Regions from separate parts of the Homo sapiens genome. Here region 2 is linked to region 1. Evidence: promoter capture Hi-C in human tissues and cell types (Jung and others, 2019). All regions are on one chromosome and are shown on one strand. The core of a region is centred on a gene start or on the middle of the fragment in contact, and the rest is flanking DNA. Distances in the headings are between cores, read along the strand shown.

The links. The method cuts DNA at HindIII sites, captures the fragments that hold promoters and counts their contacts. A contact is called where the count stands out against the background at its distance.
Region 2: the fragment with the promoter of PRICKLE3 here is called in contact with the fragment with the promoter of SYN1 in region 1 in 1 of the 25 tissues and cell types used here (lymphoblastoid cells).

Annotation. Positions count from the first base shown.
Region 1 is chrX:47,616,385-47,622,801 of GRCh38, forward strand. It overlaps SYN1 (synapsin I), which reads right to left and starts at 3,473. Exons shown (of 13, transcript NM_006950.3): 1 at 2,968-3,473. The coding sequence starts at 3,344. RefSeq lists silencers at 3,486-3,780, 3,487-3,696. The HindIII fragment of the contact is 13,946 bases long and covers 521-6,417 here.
Region 2 is chrX:49,185,123-49,187,822 of GRCh38, forward strand. PRICKLE3 (prickle planar cell polarity protein 3) reads right to left here and starts at 1,251. Exons shown (of 9, transcript NM_006150.5): 1 at 1,134-1,251. The coding sequence starts at 1,175. It overlaps SYP (synaptophysin), which reads right to left. Exons shown (of 7, transcript NM_003179.3): 7 at 2,693-2,700. RefSeq lists a cis regulatory region at 1,010-1,550 and a silencer at 1,244-1,373. The HindIII fragment of the contact is 10,179 bases long and covers 1-1,391 here.

The sequences.
Region 1 (6,417 bases), core at 2,223-4,722:
AAAACATTGAATTTGTGATTATGGAAAGGGGAAGGGACTTGTCAGTATTCCATAGATAATAAATGCTTGATGGAAAGAAGGAAGCAGACGCAAAGGACCTGCATGGAGGGCTGGAGTGGAGACCGGAAGTCTAAAGGAGGGTGATTACCTATATCCAGCAGAGGCCTCATTGATGTTTGCTGACTTCAATGGAGCAAACTTAACCAGGAAGATAACACGTTGGTGAGTGGACGTTGGTGAAGGAATTACAGCACGTGCTCCATAAATGCTTTACAGATTGATAGAGAAAAAAGCGGAGAAGCCTGCTGCAGGGATGATAATGTGGCTGTTTGAAAATAATACAGTAAGAGATTAATAAGTGTTTTCTGGACTAATTCGGGGAGAAAAAGGCAGCTGGGGAGATGGCTACTAAGTGGAGGAAGAGGCCTAGCTAGAATAAATGGAAAACAGTGCACATTGTGAGCTTTCAGGATTGTGTTGTGTAAAAGGCAGGATGGAGATTGTTGAAGGGGGAATTGGGACTACAAAAAGGGGAGAAGAGGCATTTAACGCAGGGTTCTCAGTAGTATACGATAAATGCTCATTAAATGATTGTGGGGTTGCATGGAGGAAAAGGTATAGCAAGGCCAGCTGGCAGGTGAGGATTTCAAGCACACCTGCATTTAGAAAAAAAAGAAGGAAGGGGAGCTGAAGAAGGGTTATTCCTAGTATATAATGGTGCATAATAAATGCCTCCCACACTTTCATGGAAAGGATGCAATAAATATCTGCAGAATGAATAAATTGCTCTGAATGGAGAGAAAGGCTACTCGGTAAAGGCTCCTGGGGGAGAGGTAATCTAACCAGTAAACAGCTGGTACTCAATACATTTAGGCTGAAGTAGACCCCTAGAGAGAGAGCTCTTGAGGCAGGGTCAGGGATTTCCAGAGACTTGGAAAGAGGAAGTTGAAAGTGACTTATACAGTAAGTGCTCAATAAGTGTTTACTTAAATAGTAAAACTATTAAGTAAATAGTAAATTTAGTAAATTTACTAAATTTATTTAGTAAATTAAGTCAATAGTAAAACTATTAAGTAAAAGTGTTTACTTAAGTAAGTGTTACTTAAATAGACTAAAAGCCCTTTGGGGGTATGAATTAAAGTTGGTAGAGGGAATCCTAGGGGTACTGAAGGGAGTGGGAAAGGGGTGATCATTATAAACTCAGCTCTGGATTTATCACAGGAAAGGACCTTGGGAGAGGCCTTGTGATTGGAACAGGCTCTCCTAGGGGTAAGGAAGAAGAATGTACTCCCCAAAACAACAGGTCCTGCATATGTGCTCACTGGATCTACTGTTAAGAAAACAATTCTGGGGAGGAGGTGTGAATATACAGAACACACAGAAGACACTCCATAAATGCTCAGGGGAGCCATTGGAAGAAAAGGTCTTTGGGGGAGGATGATTAAAATGGAGCACATGACAGACAAGGAATAAATGCTCACTGGATCCATTAGAAGAAAAGGCCTTTGGGGAGTGGGGCTGGGGATGGACATATAGTCACCTGATCAAGGCTCACTGCATCCCTGAAGGAAAAGTCCTATGGGGAGGGGAAATGGGAGTGCAGAAAGTTGATCTATGGGAGCTCGATTCTTCATCCATAGGAGAAAAGGCTTTTGTGAAGAAGGCACACAATCAGGTACACAGCAGGTGCTCCATAAATACTCCAAGGAGTGATTAAAAGAAAAGGTCTTTGGAAAGAGTGACTGGAATGGTACACACAGCAAGTGCCAGATATCTGAGCACTGTATTAACTGGAGGCACAGGCCTTTATGGAGAGGTCTAAGGTTGGGTCATGCAGAAAGTGCTCAATACATGCAGACTGAAGCCACTGGAGGAAAGGGTATTGCAGAAAGGGTTTGAGGGTGGGGTATACAGCAGGCACCAGTCAATGCATGCTTGCTGAATACACTGGAGGAAAGAACTTTTAGAGAAGGCTCACACTGCAGGCAGTTGATAAATGCTAGATGGATCCACCAAAGGAAAGGTCTTTGAAGAAGTAGCTGGAGAACGGGGGATACAAGAGGCACTCAATAAATGTTTTCTAGATCCACTGTAGGGAAAGGTCTTTGAGGAGACGGTCTGAAGATGAGTCACACAAAGAAGGTTCAAAACTGCTCATGGAACTCACTGGAGGAAAATGATTTGTTTGAGAAGGGGTTTGGGGGTGCGGCACGTATCAGGCACTTAACAAATGCTTCCTAGATCCTTTGGAGAAAAGGCCCTCAGAGAGAGGGCTTGGAGTTGGGGCACAGAGAAGGCATCCAATCAAAACTCACAGGATCCATGAAAGGCAAAGCTTTTGGAGAGAAGCTGGGGTGGGATACACAGCAGGTACTCAATGTTTACTAAATAGTTTAAAAGGGCTTTAAGGACGGAGCTGGGGTGGGACACATAGCATAGACTGGACACATGCTCACAAGACCCATTAGAGAAGGCCTCAGGGCAAGGGTTGAGGAGAACAGGACAGTATCAGGCTCTCAAAGAATGCTCACAAACCTCATTGAAATCAAAGGCCTTGGGGAAGGGCTCTTGGATGAGGCATACTGCAGGTACTAGATAAGTGCTCACAAGATCCATTAGAGGACAAGGCCTATGGGGCAAGGGTTGGGGAGGGTAGGAAGGACACGTTCGGTTTTCGAAGGCTCATAGGATATATTGAAGCCAAAGACTTTTGGGGGAGGGGTAGTAGGGAACAGGTACGCAGCAGGTGCCTGATAATTGCTCCCTGGATCCATCAAGGTTTAAGGGGCGGAGGGGGGCGACAAGGGCGGGGCACAGAGGAAGCATCCAGCTTAATAATTTAAAGGAAAAAGATTTAGGTGAGAGGGCCAGGTGTCAGGCACACAAGCGGCGCTCGATAATTGCTCATTCGCAGAAGAACGATCTGGGGACCCAGGCCCACGGGAGACGTCCGCGGCAGTGGCTTACCAGTCGGTGTGCGGCTCGTCGATGACCAGCAGCACCCTGGAGGCGGCTCCCCCGCGGCCTGCGCCCCCAGAGCCGCCGCCCACCTGCTCGCTGAAGGTGGCAGCTGCCGCCGCCGTGGTCTGCTTGACCGCGTTGGACAGCGACGAGAAGAAGCCACCGCCCCCCGAGGACCCGGGGCTAGGGGCGGCCGGAGAGGCCGCTGGGGCGACCCCGGAGGACCTCTCGGCAGTGGCGGTCCCGGGACCGGGCGTGGCTCCGGGGCTGTGGGCACCGGGCGGCGGTGGGGGCGGCTGCGGACGCTGCAGGTCTGTCATGTACCCATTTGGCAGATTGGCCATAAAGTTGCTGTCCGACAGGCGGCGCCGCAGGTAGTTCATGGCTGCGACTTGGGGCAGGGGGTCCTAGGGGTGGTCTGGCCAGGAGCCGCGGGGGCGGACTGCGCGGTGCCCAGGAGCACAGCTGCGCTCTCAGGCACGACACGACTCCTCCGCTGCCCACCGCAGACTGAGGCAGCGCTGAGTCGCCGGCGCCGCAGCGCAGATGGTCGCGCCCGTGCCCCCCTATCTCGCGCCTCGCGTGGTGCGGTCCGGCTGGGCCGGCGGCGGCGCGGACGCGACCAAGGTGGCCGGGAAGGGGAGTTTGCGGGGGACCGGCGAGTGACGTCAGCGCGCCTTCAGTGCTGAGGCGGCGGTGGCGCGCGCCGCCAGGCGGGGGCGAAGGCACTGTCCGCGGTGCTGAAGCTGGCAGTGCGCACGCGCCTCGCCGCATCCTGTTTCCCCTCCCCCTCTCTGATAGGGGATGCGCAATTTGGGGAATGGGGGTTGGGTGCTTGTCCAGTGGGTCGGGGTCGGTCGTCAGGTAGGCACCCCCACCCCGCCTCATCCTGGTCCTAAAACCCACTTGCACTCATACGCAGGGCCCTCTGCAGATACTCGGTTTGTAGTGTTGATATTCAACTCAGAAGGCATTTTTTGGGGGGAGGGGGGCACTGGAAGCACACTCAGAGACACGAAAGTAGAGAAATAACCCCCTCACAGAGGGGGGTGAGGTCACACGCAGTGCCCGCGGGGAGATTAGTCTCCCACATCCACACAGGCTCAGCTAGGCAGAGAGCGGGGGCGTCACAGACAGCATCAGACAAGCGGAGGTGGACACTTGGGTGGTGTACACACCCTTGCCCAAGGTGGCAAGGGGGGCCTGGAGGCACACAAGAAATGACACACATATAAACACACACAAAAGTGAGGAAACATACGAGGGCATGTACAGACAGAACACACGCCAATCTAGGTATACATACAGACATACAAGTCCAGAGTAACACACATGGGCATGTTACATACATGCATGCATACACCCATACCCCCACACACACAGGTAACACACTGACACACAGAGACCCAGGGAAACTCATATGAGCATACACTTGCAGACAAAACACATTCCCACCGATGATCATGGAGAAACCTAGATCTGCAACACAGACATTCTCTGCAGCCCTAGCCCTGGTGCGTGTCCACCCCCACACCAGAACACACTTGGTATATACGCCACCATCCCTTTGCTCTGGACACCGCCAAAACTCACGATAACTACCTGATGTCATCAGTGCCCATGGCTGTCTCCCCCTGCACCCAAGAACTTTCCACAGAGGCAGGCCCATCCCATGGTGCACACACAGTAGGTACCAAATAATGTTTGCATATGAGCAAATGAGGTAGTCCAAGCAGAGGTGGGATATGGGAACCTGTCAAATCTTTATGATTCTGACTACAATAAAAGCACTAATTCATAATCATTTGTTCACTGATTGTACCCAACTCTTAACTAAGCTGTTTACATGCATCATTTCATCCAACCCTCACAACAATCCAGTGGGGTGGATAATATAATGTCTATTTTACAGATGAGGGAATACAAGAACTCCAGTTAATTCCCAAAGGGTCATGTTCACTTTATGATCAACACATTTTTTTAAGAATGTGCCAGGAAGAGGAAACATCCAGTGCCAATGTGGCTGGAACAAGCTGAAGGGGGTTGTGGTAGCAGGGGCCAGATTGGGTAGGACCTTGACCATAGTGAGCAGTGATGGTGGACTAGGAGAGGTGGCAGAAGATAGGCAAGAAGTAAGTAGATATGGAGTCTCTTTTGCCTGCAGAATTTTCAGGTGACTCATCCACTTATTCATTTGTTCATCCTTTATTCATTAAATCATTGGCTGGTTTAAACAAGGCAGTAATAGTGTGGGGTCTGGAGACACAGTGCCTGGGTTCAAGTGGGGCCTCCACCATACACTTGGGAAAGTGACTTAATCTTTCTGAGATTTGGTTTCCTCATCTGTAAAAAGGATACATCTCTAACCCACCTCTAAGGAGAGGGGTAGGAAGGGGGCAACCTCTGTACCTTTGCATGTGTTGTAACTTCTGCCAGGAATGTCCTCTCCTTCTCTCTCGAGGGCTGCCTTTGGCCACTGTCTGCAGGAACCCCTCACCCCCAGGTCTCAGATTCTATCCCCTCCTCCCCTAGGCTTCCACAGTACCCAAGTCAAACACTTCCCAAACCATCCTCTACTCCCTCCTCCAACCCAGCCAGCTTCAGTCCCACCTCCAGGCCTTTGATTTGGCCACTCTTTTCTCCTCCCTTCAGGATTCCTTCTCTGGCATTCCAAATCCTAGTGTTACCCAGATGGGGATCTCCCCGCAAATCAGATATTTTCCAATGTCTTGAAGTATGTGCTCCCTGGTTTTTTGCCCAGTAACGGAAGCAAACAAGCTGTGCAGGGCGCGGTGCCCTCTTTGGGGACAGGAACAGCTGCAGGTCTACAGATCTTTCTGACTCCTTTAGGTCTGAATTCAGGTTCCTCGGGAATCTATCTCCAGGCTGCGCCTCTTCCTGGGGTCCCCATTCCTAGGTTCCTAGTACTTGTGGCCCCAGCACCATTTCATTTTTCCACGTGGCTCAATTTCCAGAAATTAATTTTTTGTAGATTGTTTTGTAGAGGAATGAGGATTCACCTCAGGAGTGCCTCAATTCACTAAGGCAAAGGTTAGGCTCCCCCAAACTGTCTCCATCTTGTTCAGCAGGAATAGGCGTACAAAAGGGGCCCCAATAATGATTTTGCTGTACATTGGTGAGCAACGACTCTCAAACACACACCCCTGACATATGTTCACATTCAGTATTGTACCCATGTTTGTGACTCACACATACATGTCCATGGCACCTTAATGTGTATGTGCACACACGGGACTCCTGCATTGTTATGGCATACATACATTTGTAACCTCACACACATGCCACATATCAATACATCCTTAATTCTTGCACAGGCCCAAAGGTCTGCATCTCTCTCTCACACACACACAGCTGAATTCCCACTTTCTTGTAAACGTATACCTCTCTCATACCCTGTAGTAGCAACCAGAACCCCTCACTTTGGCTCAGTCTTCC
Region 2 (2,700 bases), core at 1-2,500, 1.6 Mb after region 1:
CCATCTACGCCGCCAGCAGCACTCCAGTTCCACAGGGTAGGAGACGAGACCGCATTCTTCCTTGAGATCCCCACGTGAACCCTGCCCCTCTCTTCAGAAGCTCAGGAGCTCCTCCCCTAAACCCTGGCCTCATGCCCTGATACCCAAGGAACTGGGGACCCTCCCCAGGATCTCAGGAGGCCCCTGCTCCATTCAGAAACCCCCATCCCAAGAAACCTTGGCCTTTACCCATCCCATCCTAGGGCTATTTATTCCTTCTCCGGACCATCAAACCCAGACCCCACATTCCCAGGTCAGAGACCCACTCCAAAGGAAGTGAAAGAACCTCCTATCTAAGAAGTCAAAAACTCCCTTGCTCAGGCGGAACCCTGGAAGCCTTGTCCCCCCAAATCCCAGTCTCTTGACTCTCAGCATTTCGGCATCCCAGGAGTGTAGGACTCCATCCCTCCGTGCACATTCCTCCAAGGTACTGTGTCCTTTAGAAGCTGAGGAGGTCGGCCAGGCTCGGTGGCTCACGCCTATAATCCCAGCACTTTGGGAGGCCGAGGTGGGCGGATCACCTGAGGTCAGGAGTTCGAGACCAGCCTGGCCAACATGGTGAAACCTTGTCTCTACTAAAAATACAAAAATTAGGCGGGCGCGGTGGCGGGCGTCTGTAATCCCAGGTACATGGGAGGCTGAAGCAGGAGAATCGCTTGAACCCAGGAGGCGGAGGTTGCAGTGAGCGGAGATAGCGCCACTGCACTCCAGCCTGGGTGACAGAGATTCAGTCTCAAAAAAAAAAAAAAAAAAAAAAAGCAGCAGCTCAGGAGGTTCCTGCTCAACCTAAGGCTTCAAGACCCAGTTCTCTGGCCCTCAGGATTCCCTCCCACAATTCATAAGAGAGGGGTCCCCACCAGGTCCCAGGAGTGCTGATGAAAGTGTGTGGAGAGGTGATTAGGGGGTTTGGGCCACCAGATCTACACCTTCCTCCATCCATTCGCCTCCAGCAGCCCCAGCCCCAGGTCTGGGAATGCAGGGGATGGGATTCCCAGATCCTCTGTGGGGCACCTATTCGCTATGCCTATCCATTGCCCCCTTGCCTGGGCCTCAGTTTACCCCCGACCCCCACCGCTGCCCTGACTCCCGCTCACCGCACGCCCGGAGCGGCGCCTCCGGGACCCACGCGCGAACATGGCGCGCCCGGGCAGGGTCAAGCCGGGCCGGGTCAGGCGAATGTAATCCTTGCGACCGTCAGGCCACCGCGCGTCCGGCCTGGGAACTCGGTTCCGTAAACCTGACACCCTCGTGGGAGGAGCGCGCCCCGCAGGGCCCGCCCCCGGGCATGTGGTCTCTCCGCTGCCAGGGCGCCCCCTGCCTAGAGGTGAACTGCACGTAGCCCGGAGTGCCCCGCGGGAAAGGCCTCTGCCCTCCCGCTCCGGGCCGGTGCGGGGCGTCACAAGGCACGACCCCCAGAATCCCGGCGTGCCACGTGGCCTCTCACGGGACCTGGGGCTTGAAGGTTCTGTAGTGGAGGATGGGGAGACTCAGAGGTGGCCAACTGGACTGAGAGGGGTGGCGCGCTAGGGTGCTTGTGTTGACGTTTTGTGTCGATTTATTTCGGATGCTTATTTGGGAGAGGGGTTAAAGACACCTCTTGGCTCCTCCCCACTGGTGAGGTTCCGAGGGTCTCCCCGATGAATGCTGCAACAATGGGCCCCAACCTCACCCGCAGCCCCAGCTGGTGCTCGCTGGGAACCTGGGAACCTGGCCCTAGCCACCAGAGAGCTAGATCTTATACGCACTCCTCCCTTCTCATTCCCCTCTCAGCGAGGCCAGGTTCCAAAGCCCTCGTCCCCTCTCTCCCCTCATCCTTATAAGCCTAGCTGTCCAGCCCCGTCCCCCCACCCCAAGTCTTGAGAAGTAGATCTTAAAGCCTTCCCTCCCCCACCCACATTTTTCTCTCTCCAGTTATCCCCTTCCCCAGCTCAGTTCCAGGGCGGGGAGCCTCTCCTTCACGCTCTCAGGCTTGGCTGTGCCTCCGGGCTGGGGGGAGGGGGTCCCATGGCCTCAGTCAGAACTCGGCCCGGGTCTCTATGCACGGAGACTGCAGCGGCCAGGCCCTTCATCGCGGGCCCCGGGGACCTCTCCCCGCCCCCCATTACACATGTCCCTGTCACTTCCCGTGGAGTGGAGAGGTAAAAGAGAATAACTAATGAACTAAGGAGTCACCCCGGCGCCCCACCTCCCCTCCTTGCCTAACCTGTCTCCCATTTCTCCAGCCTGGGCGGAGGCAGGGAAAGGAGAGACAGTAGGGTCTGAAGATTAGGGATGGGGTCAGGCAATGTGAGGTTTCCTCCTATTCGGACCCCTTGGGGATTTGAGGAGAGGGTTCCACAGGGGCTCGGAAGAGGCTTGGCTAAGGGACCAGAATTAGAACCAACTCCTAGAAAGACCGGGCATTTGGTGGCCAGTAGTGGGAGGGTGAGCAGGGCTACTCAGAGAGTGACAGAGTGATTGGCAGGAGAGGCTTCCCAGAGGATGCTGCTCTGCCTAACACTTTTGAAGGGGCCTGAAATGGTGCAGCAAGCTGAACTGCGGTCGGTGGGTCCGGGTGGAGCTTGTTCTCACCACCTCTCCCTCCTTTCTCCCCCGGCCAACCTCCTCCCCGGCGCCCGAAAAAGACACACTGAGAAATCAGAGCCGGGTAGACTAGGTGGT